Linked DNA regions of Homo sapiens: regions 1 and 2 are each linked to region 3. Evidence: promoter capture Hi-C in 16 types of primary human blood cells and fetal thymus (Javierre and others, 2016). All regions are on one chromosome and are shown on one strand. The core of a region is centred on a gene start or on the middle of the fragment in contact, and the rest is flanking DNA. Distances in the headings are between cores, read along the strand shown.

Region 1 (4,051 bases), core at 1,236-3,735, 350 kb before region 3:
CAGCCACCATGCCTGGCTAATTTTGTATTTTTAGTAGAGACAGGGTTTCTCCATGTTGGTCAGACTGGTCTTGAACTCCCAACCTCAGGTGATCTGCCTGCCTTGGCCTCCCAAAGTGCTGGGATTACAAGCGTGAGCCACCTTTTGTTTGTTTGTTTGTTTGTTTTTGACATGGAGTCTCACTCTGTCGCCCAGGCTGGAGTGCAGTATTGCAGTCTCGGCTCACTGCAACCTCTGCCTTCCAGGTTCAAGTGATTCTCCTGCCTCAGCCTCCCGAGTAGCTGGGATTACAGGCATCAGCCACCATGCCTGGCTAATTTTGTATTTTTAGTAGAGACAGGGTTTTACCATGTTGCTCAGGCTGGTCTCGAACTCCTGACCTCAGGTGATCTGCCCGCCTCAGCCTCCCAAAGTGCTGGGATTACAGGCGTGAGCCACCGGTTTTGTTTGTTTGTTTTTGAGATGGAGTCTCACTCTCTCGCCCAAGCTGGAGTGCATTGTCACAGTCTCAGCTCACTGCAACCTCTGCCTCCCAGGTTCAAGCAATTCTTCCGCCTCAGCCCCCTGAGTAGTTGGGACTACAGACACGTGCCATGCCTGGCTAATTTTTTTTGTATTTTTAAAAGAGATGGGGTTTCACCATGTAGCCAGGAGGGTCTCGAACTCCTGACCCTGTGATCCGCCCACCTCAGCCTCCCAAAGTGTTAGGATTACAGGCGTGAGCCACCATACCTGGCCTTAGACAGATATTTTTTATGTAATGATACTGCTCCTTGTGAAGCAGGGCTAACTCATAGGCAGTGCACCCAGAGTCAACAACATACAAGCTCTTGGCAGCTGTAGTTATACTCATGTCAACTCACTTTCAGTTATACGTCAGTTAAGGGGTGGGTCAATGCAAATTGAGGAGCAGGTTCTTTAGAAGTTTTAAGGAAAAGGGCGAAGATGTCCAGGTTGTTTCCATGGAAACAGGTGGGAACTTCTAGGTCATTGCCATGGCATCGGTAAACAGTCATGGCACTGGAGGGAGTATCTTATGCCCACGAGCAATGAGGCAGCCAGGGATTGCTTTTGTTGCCATCTGCTGGTTCCTGCTGGTTTCTTCACATCATCTCATCTGGACCAGATTCTGTATGGGTCTGCAGGGTTGTGGCCAGAAAACAAGTTCTTCCAGTTTCCTACCTCATTACCATGTGAAATGTTACCATTAGGAGAAACTGGGTTCACATTAGGGATCCCTAGGTGAGGGATTTACATATGGGAAATCTCTTTCCTACATTTGCAACTTTGCTATAAACCCAAAATTATTCTAAAATTAAAACATTTTAAAAAAGAATACAAAGTAAAGATCAGGTCGAAAACCACTATTTGATTATGATACATGTATGTATTTTCCATCTTTAAACTGAGATTTAACACACATGTGGTAAATGCACATCTCTATGATCAAAATATAGAACATTTCCAGCATACAGAAACCCCGTTGTCAATCTCCACCTGCTCCTTCCTGATAATTCCCATTCTGAGTCTCCTTCAAAGGTTAGTTCTGCCTGTTCTCAAAATTCACACAAAATCAAATCTTACAGTGTGTACTCACTCTGTCTGGGTCCTTTTACTGTTTTGTGAGATTTATCTATGTTATTAAATGTACTAGTACTTTGCTTTTTCATTGCTGTATAGTATTCCAATCTTTGAATATGCCATTATATTTTTTATCATTCACCTGCTGGTGGACACGGGGTTGTTCCAATTTCAGATCATTCTAAATAAAGCTGCTATGGATCTTTTCTTTCCTCTTTGATACTATTTCACTCTTTGGTTAACAGCATGCACTGTGGAGGCAGACTGGGTTCAAGTCTCAGCCCCACCATCTACCAGCTGTGTGACCTTGGGCCAGTTAGCTAAACTTGCAGTGCCTCCTCAGTTTCCTCATCTGTATAATGGAGGTCATATGATCTACTGAAGGGTAGGAACATTAAATGAATGAGTTTATAAAGCTGTTGGAAAAGTACCTGACTACCCTAGGCATTAAATAAACAAGCAATTATGATTCTGCCCCAACTCCCAAAGTCAGCAGGAATTCCCAAAAATGAGGACAGCAGCAGCTCAAAGCAGGAAAGCCAGGAGGTCACAGGGGACAGTGCTTCCAGGAACTGGGGGTGCTACCTGCCTACCCTTGCCCTAGTGGAGGGGGTGTAACACAGTAGCTTTCTCTTACAATTTATCAGATTTCATTAAAAGCATCCCACTGCTCAGCCATCCATGAGTGGATGAGTCCTTCTCCCTGTCAACCCCAGACCATCCCCCACTGCCTCCCTGAAATTCTTGAAAGATCCGGCCCATCTCATGCTCTGATGCTTTCCACTAGTCTTTTGGATGACAGATCCCTACCCAACTTCCTGTTTCTCTTTCTGTGGGAGACTAGATTTAGGAAGTAAAGATCACAGGGTGGGAAATAAAAGCTGTGGCCCCCAGGAGTTCTGGACACTGGGGGAGAGTGGGGTGACATGAGTGACTCCAAGGAACCAAGACTGCAGCAGCTGGGCCTCCTGGGTGAGGCTGGGTTGGGACGCTGGGATTCTGGGAAGGGGGAAGGGATGGCCAGCCATGGCCTCAGCCTGCCCAGGCTCTGATTTCACGTCTATCCATTCAGAGGAGGAACAGCTGAGAGGCCTTGGATTCCGACAGACTCGAGGATACAAGAGCTTAGCAGGTAGAGAGGACTTAGCAGTTTGGGAGGAGAGACGAGAGACTCCTGGACTCCTGGGTCCTGAGGAGCTGGACGCTGGGGCCTGGACTCTTGGGTCCTGGGGATGTGGGGCTAGGGGCCTGGACTCCTGGGACCTGAGGAGGTTGAGTTTGGGGCCTGAATTCCTGGTTCCTGGGAAGGTGGAGGCTGGGGCCAAGACTCCTGGGTTCTGGGGAGGTAGAAGTTGAAGCCTGGGTTCCTGGGTCCTGGGGAGGTGGGGTCAGGGGCCTAGACTCCTGGGTCCTGGAGAGGTGGGGGCCTGGGCCTGGACTCCTGGGTCATGGGGAGGTGGGGACTTGGGCCTGGGTTCCTGGGACCTGGGGATGTAGGGGCTGGGACCCAGATTCTTGGGTCTTGGGGAGGTGGGAGCAGGTACCTGGGTTACTGGGACCTGGGGAAGGGGAGGCTGGGTCCTGGGTCCCTGGGTCCTGGGGAGGTGGGAGCTGGGGGCCTGGGTTCCAGGGACCTGGGAATGTAGAGGCTGGGGCCTGGATTCCTGGGTCCTGGGGAGGTGGAAGCAGGTACCTGGTTCCTGGGACCTGGGGAAGGGGAGGCTGGGGACGGGGTCCCTGGGTCCTGGGGAGGTTAGAGCTAGGGCCTGGATTCCCAGGTGTTGGAGTGGAGGGGGCTGGGGCTGGGGTTCCTGGGTCCTGGGGTGCTGAGGGATTTAGACCAGGCTCTCCCTGGGCCAGGCTCCGGTGGGGACACTGGCAGGCTGACGCATGTATCCTCTCTCAGGGTGTCTTGGCCATGGTCCCCTGGTGCTGCAACTCCTCTCCTTCACGCTCTTGGCTGGGCTCCTTGTCCAAGGTCAGGGGCAGGTTCTGAGGGTCTGGGGTCCCCACGCCTGGCTTTTGGCTGTGGACACAGCCTGGGGCTGCCAGATCTGGGAGGGAGGTGGGACTGAGAGCCAAGATGTTGTCCCTGGGGGTCTGTAGGGGCCTCTCCCACAGCCCCTCCCCACTCTAGGGCAGGACAGGAGAGGGAGGAGGAGGAGGACAGGAAGAATCTGGCTCTCCTTGGCCTTCTGTGCTGCCTTCTCCAGGTGTCAGTTTTCTTCATCTTCAAAGGGGATTAACCAAGACCTTGGCTCTCACAAATGATGTCCCTATGGGGCTCAGTTCAAGGCTTGGCACACAGTAGGTGTTTAATAATTGCAGTTCCTTTTTTTTCTTGGCCCAGTGTCCAAGGTCCCCAGCTCCATAAGTCAGGAACAATCCAGGCAAGACGCGATCTACCAGAACCTGACCCAGCTTAAAGCTGCAGTGGGTGAGCTCTCAGAGAAATCCAAGCTGCAGGAGA
Region 2 (4,440 bases), core at 678-3,177, 410 kb before region 3:
GTGCTGGGATTACAGACGTGAGCCACTGTGCCCGGCTAACAAATTGTTTTCTGCCCATGCATTTATGTATTGTATGTGACGCATTTGTGCTAGAATAGCAGAGTTGCAGCAGAGAGCCCTCGAGGCCCAAAAATATTTACTATTTGGCCCTTTTCAAATGTTTGCCAACCTTTGGTCTAGAAGGTTACATTCTGGAGCAAACAGATCATAGACAGATAAAGAAAGGCAGATGCTAAAATCAGCCGGGCGTGGTGGCAGGCACCTGTAGCCCCAGCTACTCGGGAGGCTGAGGCAGGAGAATGGTGTGAACCCGGGAGGTGGAGGTTGCAGTGAGCCGAGATCGCGCTACTGCACTCCACTGGGCGATAGAGCAAGACTCCGTCTCAAAAAAAAAAAAAAAAAAAAAGAAAGAAAGAAAAGCAGATCCTGAATCTGGTCCCCTCCACTCACCCGCGCTTCCCAGTTATGAAAGGCAACACAATCTCCACATCTTCTTTCTTGGGTTTTGGGTTGGTTTGAGTTGGGGCCACGAAGGGAAGTGAAAATGATGTGGTCCTCATTGCTTTCACAGTTTCAAACCCAACTCCAGTGTTTATCAGCTGATGGGCTGTGGGCAGGTGACTCATCTCTGAGCCACTATGCTCATAGGTAAAATGAGAATGAGGGCGGCTGTGTTACCGGATTCTTTGAGGTCATATCCAAAAAACACATAGCACAAAATAAATGCTCATGAGATGCAGAGGCCAGGTGTGGTGGCTTATGCCTGTGATCCCAGCACTTTGTTTTTCTGTTTGTTTTGTTTTGAGACAGAGTCTTGCTCTGTCACCCAGGCTGGGTGCAGTGGCAAGATCTCGGCTCACTGCAAACTCCACCTCCCAGGTTCAAGCGATTCTGCTGCCTCAGGCTCCCAAGTAGCTGGGATTACGGGCTCCCGCCACCAAGCCCGGCTAATTTTTGTATTTTTAGTAGAGATGGGATTTTGCCATGTTGGCCAGGCTGGTCTCGAACTCCTGACCTCGGGTGATCCACCTGCCTCGGCCTCCCAATGTGCTGGGATTACAGGCGTGAGCCGCTGCACCCGGCCACTGTAATCCCAGCACGTTGGGAGGCCAAGGTGGGAGGATCGCTTGAGTCCAGGAGTTCCAGACCAGCCCAGGAAACATAGTGAGACCCTGTCTTTACAGACAAAAAATTAGCTGGGTGTGGTGCCGTGAGCCTGTGGTCCCAGCTGCTCAGGAGCCTGAGGCAGGAGAATCCCTCAAGCCCAGCAGGTTGAGGCTGCAGTGAGCTGAGACTGCCAAAGATTGCGCCACTGCACTCCAGCCCAGGTGACAAAGCGAGACTCGGTCTCAAGAAAAAAAAAAAAGAAAAGATACAAAAAAAAACAAGAATAAACCCTATTGAATTGGAGGTACTGAGGTGAATTCATGGTTTTCAAAATATAAAGATAAATATAGAAATAAGTTTGTGTGTGTGTGTGTGTGTGTGTGTGTGTGTGTGTGTTCCCATTTATCTACTAAGAGGACCTGGGAGCCACATACCCCAGTAACAATGGGCACACTTAACACCCAGATCATTTCTAACTGCCAATCTCCACCTAGCCCAGGGCTTTTTGGAAAAATGAGAGCAGCCTGGGCAACATAGCAAGACCCATTTCTACAAAAAATTTAAAAATTAGCCAGGCGTGGTGGCGTGCTCCTGTAGTCCTAGTTACTTGGGAGGCTGAGGCAGGGTTGGGGGGGACAAAAGCCTAGAACATCTAGTTAGGCCAGGAAGGAAGAAAAAACGATCAGCAAAAAACCAATAGGAATATGTCAAAAGGACCCAGAAGCCAGAGAGAAAAGCTTTCACTGGCCAAATTAAAGATAATTTAAGCATCGAAGGGGAAAAAAAAGAACGTCAGCAAAATGGCAGAGTAAAATTTGCCTTTCTACAAAAGCAATGAAAAAAACTGGCAAAATTTGACAGAATCAACATTTTCACAACTCTGGAAATTAACCAAAAGCTTACAGTAATTTGCAGAGCATTTAATTAAAAAAAAAAACACATAAAAAAACAGCAAGCTCTGTAGAATTTTAACTCACTCTAGTCTTATTCCTGGCTCTCCAGCTCAGAGGGTAGCCTTGAAAAATAACAGCCCACAATCTTGATACCATACGGAAAAGAACAGAGGTGCGGCTCCTTCAAAACCTCATTCAGGATCATTCAAGAAGAGGTGTGTGTGTGTGTGTGTGTGTGTGTGTGTGTGTGTGTGTGTGTGTGTGTTTGAGACAGAGTCTCGCTCTGTCGCCCAGGCTGGAGTGCAGTGGCGTGATCTCGGCTCACTGCAACCTCCTTCTCCTGGGTTCAAGCGATTCTCCTGCCTCAGCCTCCGGAGTAGCTGCGATTACAGGTGCCCGCCACCATGCCTGACTCATTTTTGTGTTTTCAGCAGGGACAGGGTTTCACCATGTTGACCAGGCTAGTCTCAAACTGCTTACCTCAAGTGATCCACCCACCTCGGCCTCCCAAAGTGCCGGGATTACAAGCGTGAGCCGCCGCACCCAGCCAAGAAGAGTCATTTATTGACCTATTTATTGGTACTCTGGAAGACCCTGCTCTGAAAGACCTGACCTCACTTGAACTTGCCGGATGCTAAACATTTCTCCCCAGGGGCTATTTGTTAAATGTTTTAACATTGCAGCTGCCTGTGGCAATACTTAACAGTTGGGGAAATAATAGCCTAACTAAAAATCTTAGAAGGAAAAGCGCCAGGCGCGGTGGTTCACGCCTGTAATCCCAGCACTTTGGGAGGTCGAGGCGGGAGGATCACTTGAGGTCAGGAGATCGAGACCATCCTGGCTAACACGGTGAAACCCCGTCTCTACTGAAAATACAAAAAATTAGCCGGGTGTGGTGGCGGGCGCCTGTAGTCCAAGCCAGGAGAATGGTGTGAACCCAGGAGGCGGAGCTGGCAGTGAGCCGAGATCGCGCCACTGCACTCCAGCCTGAGCCACAGAGCGAGACTCCGTCTCAAAAAAAAAAAAAAAAAAAATCTTAGAAGGAAAAATGAAGACATTAGATGTTCGGAGGGACTTTTGAAAAATTCTGACATATTTCTGGGGATATGGAAGGCCACATGCTTAGGAAAGACCTGAGACAGCCCTAAGCTCACACCGCTGGCCGACTTCGAGGCTCTGTGTAAGCAGGAAGTGAGAGCTAAAGCACAGTTGTAAATTTCCTGGGTGAATGTTGAAGGTGTGTCCCTAATAAGTACACAGAGCTCCCTGGCAAAGACTGGCAGACTTCCGATTCCAGACATTCAAGGAAATCTCTGTCCAACCACTAGCTAACCATGAAGCTAACTGAGCAAAGACTTCAGTAGCCATGACAGAGAATATAGACTTTACAGAAGTAGTTTAGAAAAGTCATTTAACAGGCCTGGCACAGTGGCTCATGCCTGTAATCCCAGCACTTTGGGAGGCTGAGACAGGTGGATCACCTGAGGTCAGGAGTTCGAAACCAGCCTGACCAACATGGTGAAACCCTGTCTCTACTAAAAATACAAAAATTAGCCAGGTGTGGTGGGGTGTGCCTGTAATCCCAGCTACTCAAGAGGCTGAGGCAGGAGAATCGCTTGAACCCAGGAGGCAGAGGTTGCAGTAAGCCGAGATCACGCCATTGCACTCCAGCCTGGGCGACAGAGCGAGACTCCACCTCAAAAAAAACTATTTTTATAGTGACAGGGTCTCACTATGTTGCCCAGGCTGAGCTTGAGCCCCTGGGCTCAAGTGATCCACTGACTTTAGCTTTCCAAAGTGTTGGGATTACAGGCATGAGCCATCACACTCGGCCAGCTGTTGGCATTTAGAATAGTCTTTCTAGCAAGACCAATATTCCAGGACCATAAAAGCTGACTGAATATCTGTTCTAGGATGAGGGATAGGCTCCAGGGATTCCTTTCTTCCCTGGAAGGTTGACTCTTGTGTGTTGGGGAGTGGGGCAGGGGGGTGGGCTGGGGCCAAGGGCCAGGGAGGACAATTTGGTCCTGACTCTCTTATTTGGGGTCTTTATGGATCTGCTCTAACACCAGCCAGTTAGAGCCAGGAGACTGCAAGCTGGGACCTGTGCATTGATCAGGTATGCCTGAGGCCAATGGTGAAGGGAGGATGGACCCTTTGAATCCAGTTATTTGGCTCTCTGGGCTCCTGCCCTGAGGTTCCCTCCAGCCCTGCTGCCCCAGCATCTAAGCCTGGAGTACCAGGGGCTCGAGGGCATGCGTGAGCCATGGACAGGATCCTGGGGAAGTTCCAGCTTAACCTGGGGGCCTCTTCCTTCTGCCCCAGCCACAGCCGGTACTTACTCAGCTCCACCCCCAGGAAGAGACTCCTGGGCTTCTCCTGTCCACCTGTGCTTCCATTGTACATTTGTCACTACAACCTGGAAGAGGCTCTGCCGTTG
Region 3 (4,001 bases), core at 1,004-3,503:
TCTGGGCAACAGAGTGAGACCCTGTCTCTAAAAAGAAAAAAAAAATTTTAAGTAAAATCACATACTAATTTCAGAAGAAAACAAAAACTAAATAAGCTATACAAAACCAAAACAAAGTAACGTTTACAAAAATGAAATGTATTATGCCTGCCAGCTGTTTGCTCTTTTTTGCTCTAGAACAAACACATCTTCATTTTTTTTTTTTTTTTTTTTTCGCAAAAAGGCTTGCTGACCTACAGAAATAGGAAACTACTGATAAAGCGTAAACCCTGACTCGGTCCAAACAACATCCGAGATGCTCAAATTTTCCAAACTCTTTATAATTTGGAATGTTAACCTAAACATCCAAGCCTGGGAGCATTCGCATATGCAAAGGGTGTATAACACTGATGGAAAGTTTGCCATATGCCAGACACTTCTGTGATGCACCTTACACAGATTACTTCATAGAAACCCCAACCAACCCTTATTCCCATTTTAAAGATGGGAAGACGGAAACTTAGTGAAGTTACACGGCTAACAGGTGGTGGAACTGGGACCAGAACCCAGCTCGGATCTGACCTCAAGCCTGTGCTCCTGACACTTCTTTTTTTTTTTTTTTAGACAGTCTTGCTCTGTCGCCAGGCTGGAGTGCAGTGGCCCGATCGCGGCTCACTGCAACTTCTGCCTCCCGAGTTCAAGTGATTCCCCTGCCTCAGCCTCCAGAGTAGCTGGAACTACAGGCGCCCGCTACCATGCCCGGCTAATTTTTGTATTTTAGTAGAGATGGGGTTTCACCATGTTGGCCAGGATGGTCTCGATCTCCTGACCTCGTGATCCACCCACCTTGGCCTCCCAAAGTGCTGGGATTACAGGCTTGAGCCACCGCGCCCAGCCTCTCCTGACACCTCTTACAGCTGGAGGATTAATCATTCACTCAGACACCTGCAAAACTCATCCCTTGGCCACTGGGCTGTCTATACTGTCCTGAACTCTCTCTCTGGTCAATGGGAAGAGAATGGGGCCCTTCAAAGCTACTGGCTGGAGCTTCATCTCCGCGAAAACAAGGCAAAGGGGAAAAGGTGTGTTGGCCGCTTCGCTTCCGTGGTAAAACTTTAAGAATGTTTTTTAATCCTGTGGTCCAGGCTTTAATCTCAACAGAGCAAGAGATAAGGGGCAGATAGCCACAGCAAAACACTCAAGTGCTAGTAGAATTAACGCAGGAAAAGAAAACCAAATACTGCACTTTCCCACTTGTAAGTGGAGCTAAACCTTGGGTACTCATGGACACCAAGAAGACAACAGAAACTGGGCTCTACTAGAGCGGGAAGGGAAGGAGGAGGTCAAGGGTTGAAACTATCTATTGAGTACTATGCTCAGTACCTGGGTGACGAGATCAGTCACACCCCAAACCTCAGCATCACGCAATATATCCAGGTAACAAACCTGTACATGTACCCCCTCAATCTCAAATAAAAGTTGAAATTTAAAAACGTAAAACAAAACGAAACATGTAAGGACCAGGGGAAAGCTTCTCGTTCCCGTCCGCAATGAAAGCACCAACTGAGTTCTTATACAAGAAACTAAAACCCATGGCACAGATAGTTCTCACGGTTTTGCACCCAAACGCTCCCTGCCAGGGAGGGCTGTCTGCTCCGGGGTGTGAGGGTTCTCCCGGGAGGCCTGAAATACGACGGTGCTGGGTATTGTGGTGGGTTCCATTCCATCCCTGGTCCTGCCCCGGGCGCTCCTGAACGAGGAGCAGAGGCTGGGGCCCAAGTGACCCCTCCTCTCCTCTCCTGGAGGAGAGTAAGCCGTAGCACCCCAGGACTGGCTGGGGCTCGGACGGAGCGGGCGGGCATCGTCTGCACCTCTGCACCCTGCAATCGCCGCCTAGAGCCTCCATGCATTGAAGGAGCAGCCTGCACCCCAGCACCCGTTCGCCTGCCTGGAGAAGTCCCCCAGGAGCCGGCGGGAGGCCCGAGGCAGCCCCGGGGGTCCCGCGCCCCAGGCCACCCCCTGAAGAGACCGAGGGCCCCCTCCTGAGCCCCGTTTTCCTCGGGACCGCCCCGCCGCCGTCCTCACCTCGGCCCGATCGCCCGCAGGCCGCTCTCCGCCAGCTCCTCTGCCACTCTCGCAGCCGCCTCCGATGCCTCCGTCCGGCCCCCCCAGATCCACAGTAGCTAGCAGCTGGGAGCCGGAAGCGGGAAGCCGCGCGAGGAGAGCAGCGCATGCGCGATCCCGCCTCGGAGGCGGGGCAGAGGGCGTGACCCGGAAGGAGGCGTGCCCTCGAGGGCGGGGCGCTCCCGGGGACCTGGGGCTGCTGCTCCCCGAGCCGTGGTGAGGGGGCGTCGGCTCGGCCTTGAGAGGGGCGCGGGCACCGAAGTGGGAGGGTGCTCGCGGCGAGGGTGAGGGCGACTTTTGAGGGGCGGGTCAGCGGGGTTGGGGGGCTTTTTGAAGGAGAGCAATGCGAGCCTGGCTGTCAGTAGGGCCGGGGGCTCTGAGGGGACAGCTGGGTTGCGGGGATCCAGAGGGAGAGCAGCAGGGTTAGGTGGGCGTTTTGTGGGGTTAACGGAAGCCTGGGTGATTAGCGCGGCTGGGGAGGGAGTCCTGAGGAGGACAGCGGTTTGGAGAATCTCAAGGGGGGTACAGCACAGTTAGGGGGACCCTGAGGGAGGACAGCGGGGTTGGGGGACCCCAAGGGAGGACAGCGGGGTTGGGGGGACCCCGAGGGAGGACAGCGGAGTTGGGGGACCCCGAGGGAGGATAGCGGGGTTAAGGGGACCCCAAGGGAGGACAGTGGAGCTGGGGGTGTTTTGGAAGAATCAACGGATGCCTGGAGGGGTTGTCAGTGGGCTCCTACGGGCTCGTTAGGATTGGAAGTACCTAAGGGGGGCACTCCCAGTGGTGGGGAGTCCTAGCGGGGAGAGTCCAAGAAATGGAGAGGGCAGGGTCTGTCACCTGAGAAAAAAGAAGCAGCATCAGGGAGTGGTGGGGGGATCACTTCATCCCAGGAGTTCAGGACCACCAGTCTGGGCAACATAGCAAGACCCCATCTCTACAAAACATTTTTTAAAATGAGCAGGGCATGGAGGCGCCTGCCTGTGGTCCCAACTCCTCCAGAGGCTGAGGTGGGAGGATGACTTGAGCCTGGGAGGTCCAGGCTGCGGTGAGCTATGATCATGCCTCCAGAGGCTGAGGTGGGAGGATGACTTGAGCCTGGGAGGTCCAGGCTGCAGTGAGCTATAATCATGCCACTGCACTCCAGCCTGGACAACAGAGCAAGACTCTGTCTCAAAATAACAACAACAAAAAAAGAGGCAGCATAGACTTCAGAAAGGTGGGTCTGGGAAAAATGAATCATATACCTCTCCAGTGGTCTCAGACACCCCAACATAGATACCATCAGATCCCCTAAACACAGGCACCCAGGCAGGTGCCATCAGATACCCAAAACAGGCTTCCAGGTAACCCCCAAATATGTCAGACACTCCACATAGGTCCAGCAGATACCCCCAAACACATACTAGATAACCCCAATACAGATGCTGTCAGATACCCTCAAACAGGTGCTCAGAGTCTGAAACACATACCATACCCTCCCCTATCCACTTCCACACAGGTGCTATTTGGCAGATGTGGATAGGCCAGATGCTTCCCCCAGCACCAGCAACCTCTCAATTGCCATCAGACACCCCAGTCTTGAGGTTGCCTGTCTAATCCAAGTCCTGCCACAGGGGAGGCAGTTGAACAGTAACCAGGAGTCGAGCAGAACAGCTCTCACCAAGGTTGGCTGGTCAGCCAGGCCTAGAAGATCTCCCCATGGCCAGGCAAGACGGCTCATGCCTGTAATCCTAACACTTTGGGAGTCTGAGGAGGGAGGATCACTTGAGTCCAGGAGCTTTGAGATCAGCCTGGGAAACCTCGCATGACCCAGTCTCTATTTTAGAAAAAAAGATTTCCCCAAACCCAATCACTTCAAAACATGCACAATATGTTGTTGAGAGTCCCCAGTTCAGAAG

What was found. The method cuts DNA at HindIII sites, captures the fragments that hold promoters and counts their contacts. A CHiCAGO score of 5 or more calls a contact.
Region 1: the fragment with the promoter of CD209 here is called in contact with the fragment with the promoter of ARHGEF18-AS1 in region 3 in 1 of 17 cell types (M1 macrophages); the score reaches 5.0 in M1 macrophages.
Region 2: a contact is called between a fragment that was not itself captured here and the fragment with the promoter of ARHGEF18-AS1 in region 3, in 2 of 17 cell types (megakaryocytes and M2 macrophages). The highest score is 6.8, in megakaryocytes.

The regions. Positions count from the first base shown.
Region 1 is chr19:7,745,968-7,750,018 of GRCh38, reverse strand. CD209 (CD209 molecule) reads left to right here and starts at 2,485. Exons shown (of 7, transcript NM_021155.4): 1 at 2,485-2,553; 2 at 2,654-2,713; 3 at 3,488-3,559; 4 at 3,932-4,051. The coding sequence starts at 2,508. RefSeq lists a silencer at 842-1,136, an enhancer at 916-1,417, cis regulatory regions at 1,637, 2,172, 2,307, 2,369, 2,378-2,382 and 8 more and promoters at 853-2,489, 2,043-2,491, 1,233-2,491, 853-2,491, 2,271-2,507 and 7 more. The HindIII fragment of the contact is 13,171 bases long and covers 1-4,051 here.
Region 2 is chr19:7,803,896-7,808,335 of GRCh38, reverse strand. All of the region lies in intron 1 of LOC124904628 (a long non-coding RNA gene), which reads right to left. Among named protein-coding and RNA genes, the nearest start is that of EVI5L, 24 kb to the left of the region's middle. The HindIII fragment of the contact is 161 bases long and covers 1,847-2,007 here.
Region 3 is chr19:7,393,311-7,397,311 of GRCh38, reverse strand. ARHGEF18-AS1 (ARHGEF18 antisense RNA 1) reads left to right here and starts at 2,253. Exons shown (of 2, transcript NR_186326.1): 1 at 2,253-2,319. All of the region lies in intron 10 of ARHGEF18 (Rho/Rac guanine nucleotide exchange factor 18), which reads right to left. RefSeq lists an enhancer at 1,386-1,565 and silencers at 1,776-2,345, 2,054-2,494. The HindIII fragment of the contact is 12,223 bases long and covers 1,513-4,001 here.